Linked DNA regions of Homo sapiens: region 2 is linked to region 1. Evidence: promoter capture Hi-C in 16 types of primary human blood cells and fetal thymus (Javierre and others, 2016). All regions are on one chromosome and are shown on one strand. Each heading gives the region's core, a stretch centred on a gene start or on the middle of the fragment in contact. The rest is flanking DNA. Distances are from core to core; before and after follow the strand shown.

The links. Contacts are between HindIII fragments. The CHiCAGO score rates a contact against its expected background, and 5 or more counts as called.
Region 2: a contact is called between a fragment that was not itself captured here and the fragment with the promoter of FAM98B in region 1, in 3 of 17 cell types (naive CD8 T cells, total CD8 T cells and total CD4 T cells). The highest score is 7.6, in naive CD8 T cells.

What each region holds. Positions count from the first base shown.
Region 1 is chr15:38,451,993-38,455,746 of GRCh38, forward strand. It overlaps FAM98B (family with sequence similarity 98 member B), which reads left to right and starts at 2,135. Exons shown (of 8, transcript NM_173611.4): 1 at 2,135-2,240. The coding sequence starts at 2,170. RefSeq lists enhancers at 2,283-2,392, 2,453-2,552. The HindIII fragment of the contact is 3,660 bases long and covers 1-3,229 here.
Region 2 is chr15:39,616,532-39,620,206 of GRCh38, forward strand. It overlaps FSIP1 (fibrous sheath interacting protein 1), which reads right to left. Exons shown (of 12, transcript NM_152597.5): 11 at 1,204-1,714. Among named protein-coding and RNA genes, the nearest start is that of THBS1-IT1, 32 kb to the left of the region's middle. RefSeq lists an enhancer at 803-2,002. The HindIII fragment of the contact is 1,245 bases long and covers 1,469-2,713 here.

The sequences.
Region 1 (3,754 bases), core at 885-3,384:
TCTCACTTTGCTGCCCAGGCTGGTCTCAAACTCCTGGACTCAAGTGATCCTCCCACCTCAGCCTCCCAAAGTGCTGGGATTACAGATGCGAGCCACCATGCTAGGCCAGTCATGCTTTTTTGTTTGTTTTTAGTTCTTTTTCTGTGCATAACTTTTGTTATTCATTTATTTAGATTTTTTAGGAAAACCAGCAGCAGAACACTTAAGATCAATAATAATAAAGAACAGTTACCTCATTTCTATTTGATTTTTACAGAGACTTTTTGCCAAGAGTACTAAGACTAGTACCTTCTATGACACCCCAACTCTGACAAGAGGCAGTAACCACTAATATACATTCTCCTCTCCCTTATTTGGAGATGAATTCAGATACATTAAACTGCAAGTAATTTTACGCTTAAGCCTTGTACAACACTAAAATATACAGTAATAATAGTCATTATACAAATGTATGGTTGAGTTTATGATATGGTTAGGATCTGTGTCTGTGCCCAAATCTCATGTTAAATTATAATCCCCAATGTTGGAGGAGGGACCTGGTGGGAGGTGATTGGATCATGAGGGCAGAGTTCTCTTGAATGGTTTGACACCATTCCTGCCTTGGCACTGTATAGTGAGTGAGTTTATCATGAGATCTGGTTTTTTAAAAGTGTGTGGCAGATCACGAGGTCAGGAGTTCGAGACCAGCCTGACCAACCTGGTGAAACCCCGTCTCTACTAAAAATACAAAAATTAGCCGGGTGTGGTGGTGGGCGCCTGTAATCCCAGCTACTCGGGAGGCTGAGGCAGGAGAATCGCGTGAACCCGGGAGGCGGAGTTTGCAGTGAGCTGAGATCATGCCACTGCACTCTAGCCTGGGCGACAGTGCGAGACTGAAAAAAAAAAAAAAAGTGTGTGGCACCTCCCTGCCTCCCTGCACCCTCTCTCTTCCTCTTACTCCGGCCACGTGATAGCTGCACTCCCCCTTCCCCTTCTGCCACAACTGTCCATTTCCTGAGGCCTCCCCAGGAGTGGAGCAGATGCCAGCATCATGCTTCGTGTACAGCCTGTGGAACCATGAGCCAATTAAACCCCTTTTCTTTATAAATTACCCAGTCTCAGGTATATCTTTATAGCAATATGAGAGTGGACTACTACAGCTTACCTTTGAGTGTTTTACACATTTATGGGTATGCTTTTTGTTTGTAACCATAATTAGGAAGGCGAGAGCATTACTGGTCTTTATTGGACTGGGGCTACGAATGCTATGTAGTCTGCAATGGAAGGGACAGGTCCATACAAGGGATCAATAGTTATACTTCATGCAGGATTTCCAACAGTTCTGCTAGAGTATTCATGTAGGTGACATGCCTGCTAATAATGATCTAACCTTATACTCTTAGTACCTTTTACATATGAACCCTAAAATACATTTTTTAAATCCTTTAGATAAGAGATTGAATTCTTCATGGATAGTACACAGAGGGTATATTATGTTTTGTTTGTTTGGAACTTTACAGAGAATTCGCCACAATTTTGGAAAACCACATCAACTACCTTACTTTGCTGGCGGTATGTTTGTTGCTTATACAACTAATGCTTTGTCAGCAATGAAGCACATCATCTGAATATGCAGTTGAGGGGATTCTACATAGATAGATGCAAGCATCTGATCACTTCATTGGTCTTCCGCATTTCATAAGGAGAAAAATATTACCTTGTTATAAATTACTTCATTTTTTCCTTCAAGTTGAAGCATCGTCGTGTATATTGATTTAAAAATTATATGTGTAGGCATGTGATATTAGTTACTAATTTTAGCTGAAGATAATTATAATTTTATTTCAGATTTCTGTTATTAAAAAGGTCTGGAATCGGATAGGTTGAGATCAACCCGATACCACGATATTTGCTAAAATTTATTTGAACACACAGAAAAGTCCCAACACAGAGAACTCTTTATTACTATTATTTATTATTTCTACTATTCTTTTAAAAAATTATTATCGTTACACGCAGCGGTTTTAGGCACTATGAAGTGTTTATTGCCTCGGGGCTGGGAACCTTTGCGCCCTTCTTCAGCTGTGCTCTCAGGCAGTTACCGGCCAGACCCGGACCGGAACCTTGGCGCGGTGACGCTAGTTTCCGGCGGGCTACTTAGAGCGCCGAACAGCTCTGGGCCAAAGGACCATGAGAGGGCCGGAGCCGGGTCCCCAACCGACGATGGAGGGAGACGTGCTGGACACACTGGAGGCGCTGGGGTGAGTGCTTTTGGAGACGCCTTTTCCCTGAAAACGCAACCTCTCCTTGGCCTGGCTGCTTAGCCTACTTCCCTTGGGCCTCTGTGGGCCTGGGCGGCCATGTGTAGGCCTCCTTCCCTGCCTCGATCCCTCCGGCGCCGACGGAGTTAAGCGGGAGGCGGGAGAGAAATCTATTTGGGGGGTGGAGCAGGGCCGGAGAGCTGGGGTTCGTGGCCCCCTCTTCGAAACTTCTTGCCTCGAAACTCTGTTGCAGGAATCCGCCGGGTGGCGCGGAGCGGCCCTTCTAGCACCGGTTTTCTGGGCTAGCTCGCGCCCGCAGGTGATATTTGTGTTGACGTAGTTCTGGCGCCCGGAGGGAGGTGCTGGAACCTGAGCTGCTGTTGAGGACTGTTGTCTCCTACAATGTACAACTTGTGGCTTACTTGGGGCTCTGGAGCGAATGGCTTTTACTTTGACCGGAGAAAGTGTTGTAGTTCATTGCGAGTTCGTTCTTTCAACCATTTCGTCCGTTCGTCAACGTGTATATTAGCTTGTATATTAATTTACACATATTTACGTTTGTAAATTTCCCCTAGGCAAGGGAAAAGGATAGTTTTTCAGATTACTCTTGGCTTACATAGTCGCGCAGGCTGCAAGTCTGCTGCCGGCTGGTATTTACAGTGCAGAATGGTAAGTGCTGTGAGAACTCAGGGTGGAGGTGGGAGTAATGTTAATACTTAACAAGTGTGGTGGTTCGTAATCTCCCCCTCAACCTCATCCTGTTTTTTTCCACACAGCTCTTGTCCCCATCCCAAATTATCATGTCCTGCCCATTCATTTGTCTCTTGAACTCTGCTTCTCCCTCGTTTTATTCCTCCTCCTCCCCAAGTCAGCTCCTGGAAAACTGATGCTTTGCATATTTTATTCACCGATGTTTTCCCAGCAACACACTAGAACGGAGTCTTTTACAGTAAATAGTGGTTGAATGAATGAGTAAATGAATGAAGAAAAGCTTAGAGAAGAGTCCACAGCAGTAAGCATAGGACCAGATAGTTGAGTCATACAGTGCACATTAAATAAAGAGCTTGGAGCCATCTGCACATTTGTTTGCCCTGCTACGTGCTGCTGTTTCTTGATAGGGGAAGCTGTGCCTTTGCAGCGTTATTATGAAGCTTGAACCAATCCCACACCCCACTTTATCTTCTCTAAAACTGCATTTGCCCCTCTATCAATTGTTTCTTTAGTTGAACCCTGATAATACCTACTTTGCAGTGACCCAGGGTTACGGAGTCTTGCACTTAGTAGATCGTGAATACATATTTGTCAAACGAAAGAACAGTGCCATTGATTATTTAGGGGGCATTTTTACTTCTGTGAAGTCCCTTGGAAGTTCTCACTTAACTTGGTTAAGAAGGAACCAAAACAAGAACTGAAAATACTTAGTAGAATTATTTAGGCTCCAAACAGTTTGAGCTCCCAAGTACTTCAGGTAAGAATATTGGGAACTCATAAATGGTTTATGAAAAAGGAAAAGG
Region 2 (3,675 bases), core at 841-3,340, 1.2 Mb after region 1:
CTGAACATTTCTGGGAAGAAGAGGGCCTGAACAACAGCAGAAGCTAGGAAATCACCGAAATCATTAGACCAGATTAGCTACACACTGAATAACATTTAGGTGACTACTTAGAGATTGATTAGGAAAAGAACTTCAGGTCAGATCATGGAGACACTGAACAAGTTAAGGAATTCTGATTTTGATCAACAGGCATTGGAGAGCCATAGAAGGAAGTGTGGTTATCAAAGCTGTGCTTTAAGGAAATTCGTTTAGTGGTTGTCAACAATGGTAGGAAGAGAAGAGAGACTTGAGGCAGGGAGGTCTGGGAGAAGGGTTATGGCATTGGTCCAGTTGAAGTTGTAGGAAGAGAAAGGAAGGGATGGGCATGAGAGACACCGCAGGAATAGAACAAACAACACCTGAACACTGGAAGTGGGAAGCAAGAAAGAGAAGTAATTCAGTGATGACTCAGATTTTGCTCCTGGGTGACTAAGGAAATGGAAGTCAAAACCGAAATCTGACTCAGTTCAGAGTTAATGGATTATAGATTTAATAAGGAATAGATTAATAGATAGAAATGTAATAGCCAATATATTTTAGAGTAATCTACAATAGAGGTAAAAATTGAATCTATTTAAATAGATTCACCAATTGTTACACAGATTTCTAACATAAATAATTGAATATTTGTTTGTGTCGAAAACTAGTTATTGTTGTATCCTGTACCATGACCATTGCAAGATGAAACACTAGATCGTGACGAAACACCTGAGAACATAGGAGTGGCTCAGGAGAGGAGGTTTGCATACAGAAACTAATATAACCACAATGAGTTACAAGTTTTACATTTTAAATTCATTCCTTAGAACAAATTTTCATCACTAAAGTTTGAAAATACTAAAGTTTGAAGTTGAAATACTAAGCAAATCTATTCAAAGTATTTCTCTCCATTCAAACTAATTTCTCTTTTCCTGTGAAACCAACATTATTTTCTGGATGACACAATTAATTACCATCAAGAATAACGTATTTCATAGAGTACTAACCTCAACTTTGATTTCATAAGAGCATTGGGAAATAGGTTTTATGTTTGCATACTCTTATTGACGCTACCTGTGACTTACAAACATACCTTCTTACCCGACTCTAATTTAAACCATAATACCTTTATATTGAGGTGCTTTTAAGAATTATTTACCAAAACACATGTTCGCCAAGCCTCACCTGCTATTGTATTCTCTGGAGAACTGAGTTTCAGATGTTGGTCTTCTGATGAAAGGCTCACACTGATACCATACAGTGGATCATCTAAGAAGGAGGGCCTTTTCAGTCTCCCAATGCCAAGAGTCTTCGACATAAAATAGTCTTTTGTGTCACTAATAATAACGTCCTTGGAAAATTGAAGGCATTTCATATTCTCTGCTTCAGTGACAAGAGCTTCTGACATGTTATGTCCAGTCAAGGCTTTAGTGAGATAGTAGCCTTTAGAAGCTTCACATTCTTCACTCTCAAGCATATCTGCATCTTCTACCTCAGTTTTCTGGACCTTTGTTTCTGATTCATTTAGCAATTTAGAGATGATGGACCTGGAAAGCTGGGGGAACACAGGTGTTACGTCCTCAATGTCTTCCTTTTTTCTTTCTGAAGAAAGTTTAATGATGGATTTTTGTTTAAGTATGCATTCATCCAGAAGACACTTTAACTGTTCTTCAGAGAGACATGATGTGGACTCTAACTGATGAAACAAACCAAAAGATTACATAGTCAGTTGACTGAGTAAACACATTTATTTTTGGTAGGCATCCAGTAATACAAATATAAATGCAAGTAACCCCTTACACAACACATAAAAATAGAAAAATAATTCATTGTAAAGTATCCAAAACTGTAGGGGAAATGTCATAATCCTGGCAAAATCTTTGGTTGGTGTTTCTCTGACCCCACCCATCCCTCAGCATGAATCCCACCACCATCCAATTCCTTACTGGGAAAAAAATTGGCATACAAGGCAGACTACCCCTACCTCTGGGGATTCAGCACTCCCATGTCTGTCCACAACTATCAGTGGACAATACTGCTGAAGACAGAAAAGGAAGGGTGAAGGGTGGTGCATCCTGCAATGTGTCGTTGCTGCAAAGCTACAGGTCTAGGCAGAGGCCAGGGGCATTCCAGAGGCGGTGTATTTGGGGAGAATGATTTGATCATGCATACTTAATCTCTGCTTGTAAAGGTTACCAGGGCTAAGTGTTTCAACCAAGACCTTAAATATTTAAAAACATTTTTTTTCTTTCAGCAATATTCTCAGGAAATAAATTTTTAAAAATCAAATGAAAGTAGAGAGCCATGTCCCACAAGACTTCAGCTGAATACCATAACATTTGAGTTGCAACAATCTCAAAAAGGAATGAGATTAAAATATAGTGAAACACACTGAAAAAAAAATGTCTACTTCCCCAAAAAATCAGTGTCTTCCATGGTTTACATGTGGATTATCTAGGAAAAGACTAATCCTCCTTTACAGGGGGATGAATTATCTGAGAACAAGAAGTCCCCATAAGAAAACTTAATCATGAATTTCAATGACTTTAATTTCTACTTCAGCAAAGTAAAATAATGTTATTGGCCTACTCTGAAGGTACATAGTAAAAAATAACTAAATATTCTGCATATGTAAAGTACTGAAATAAAAAGCTATTACTGATACTAGTATAGTTAATTCTCCACTATTAGGTAAAGCTTCTAATGCAACTAATAAATACTAATATGTAAAACAATTTTGTGCCATGTTTAAAAAATATTGTTTAAAATTATGTTTAACTTACCTATATTAAAACTAGTTTTTACAGTGGCAAGTGTCACTATGAGTATGAGGATAATAAGAAATTGTCTGGAAATATATTCTTAGTAATTATTTGGAATTCAAAATTCAGGTGACTGACCCTAAGGTTAATATACATGTCAAGAAATAGGATTTGAGATTTGGAATTCAAAATTCAGGTGACTGACCCTAAGGTTAATATATATGGCAAGAAATAGGATTAGAATTATGTATTAGCAAATTCTACTTTTAGTCACTAGGCATTTCAGGAATCCAGATATAGTATTTTATCCATCTGTATCCAGAATCAGGAGCATTATCTCCACCCTACTATGGAAACCTAGTCAAGTAGAAAATGAAGGAAGTCCTTCTATGACATTAGATACCTAAAACACACTTTCAAACTTTGCTTATGTAAAATTACATATAATGTGTAGACAATTCCCTACGATTTAGAAAGAGCCCGCTGAGTGTCATCCTTACCAAACATCCTCATCAAAGCCTTATTATGATGAAATTTTTAGACACTAGAAAAAAAATCAGTCCATATTAGAGCAGGAGGAGGTCTCTAGGGAAAAAAGGGTAGGAGGGAGGATTGGTAGATTATCCAATATGCTTGACCATTTCCAAAAGTAATATTGATATGATAGATGTTTGGCAGTTCTGATGATGTATTTGGCTAAATACACAGAAAATGAAGCAGAAGGAAAATCAAAGCAATTATGAACTCTGGGGAAAACAAAAAGTTTTACAAAAAAAAGGAAAAGCAGTGACATATACACAGAAAATTAGGCAAAAGAAACTAAGATAATTATGAAGTCTAGGACAAACAAAAAGTTACATGAGAAAGGATGCCATAGGCTAATAATTGCTTCTGC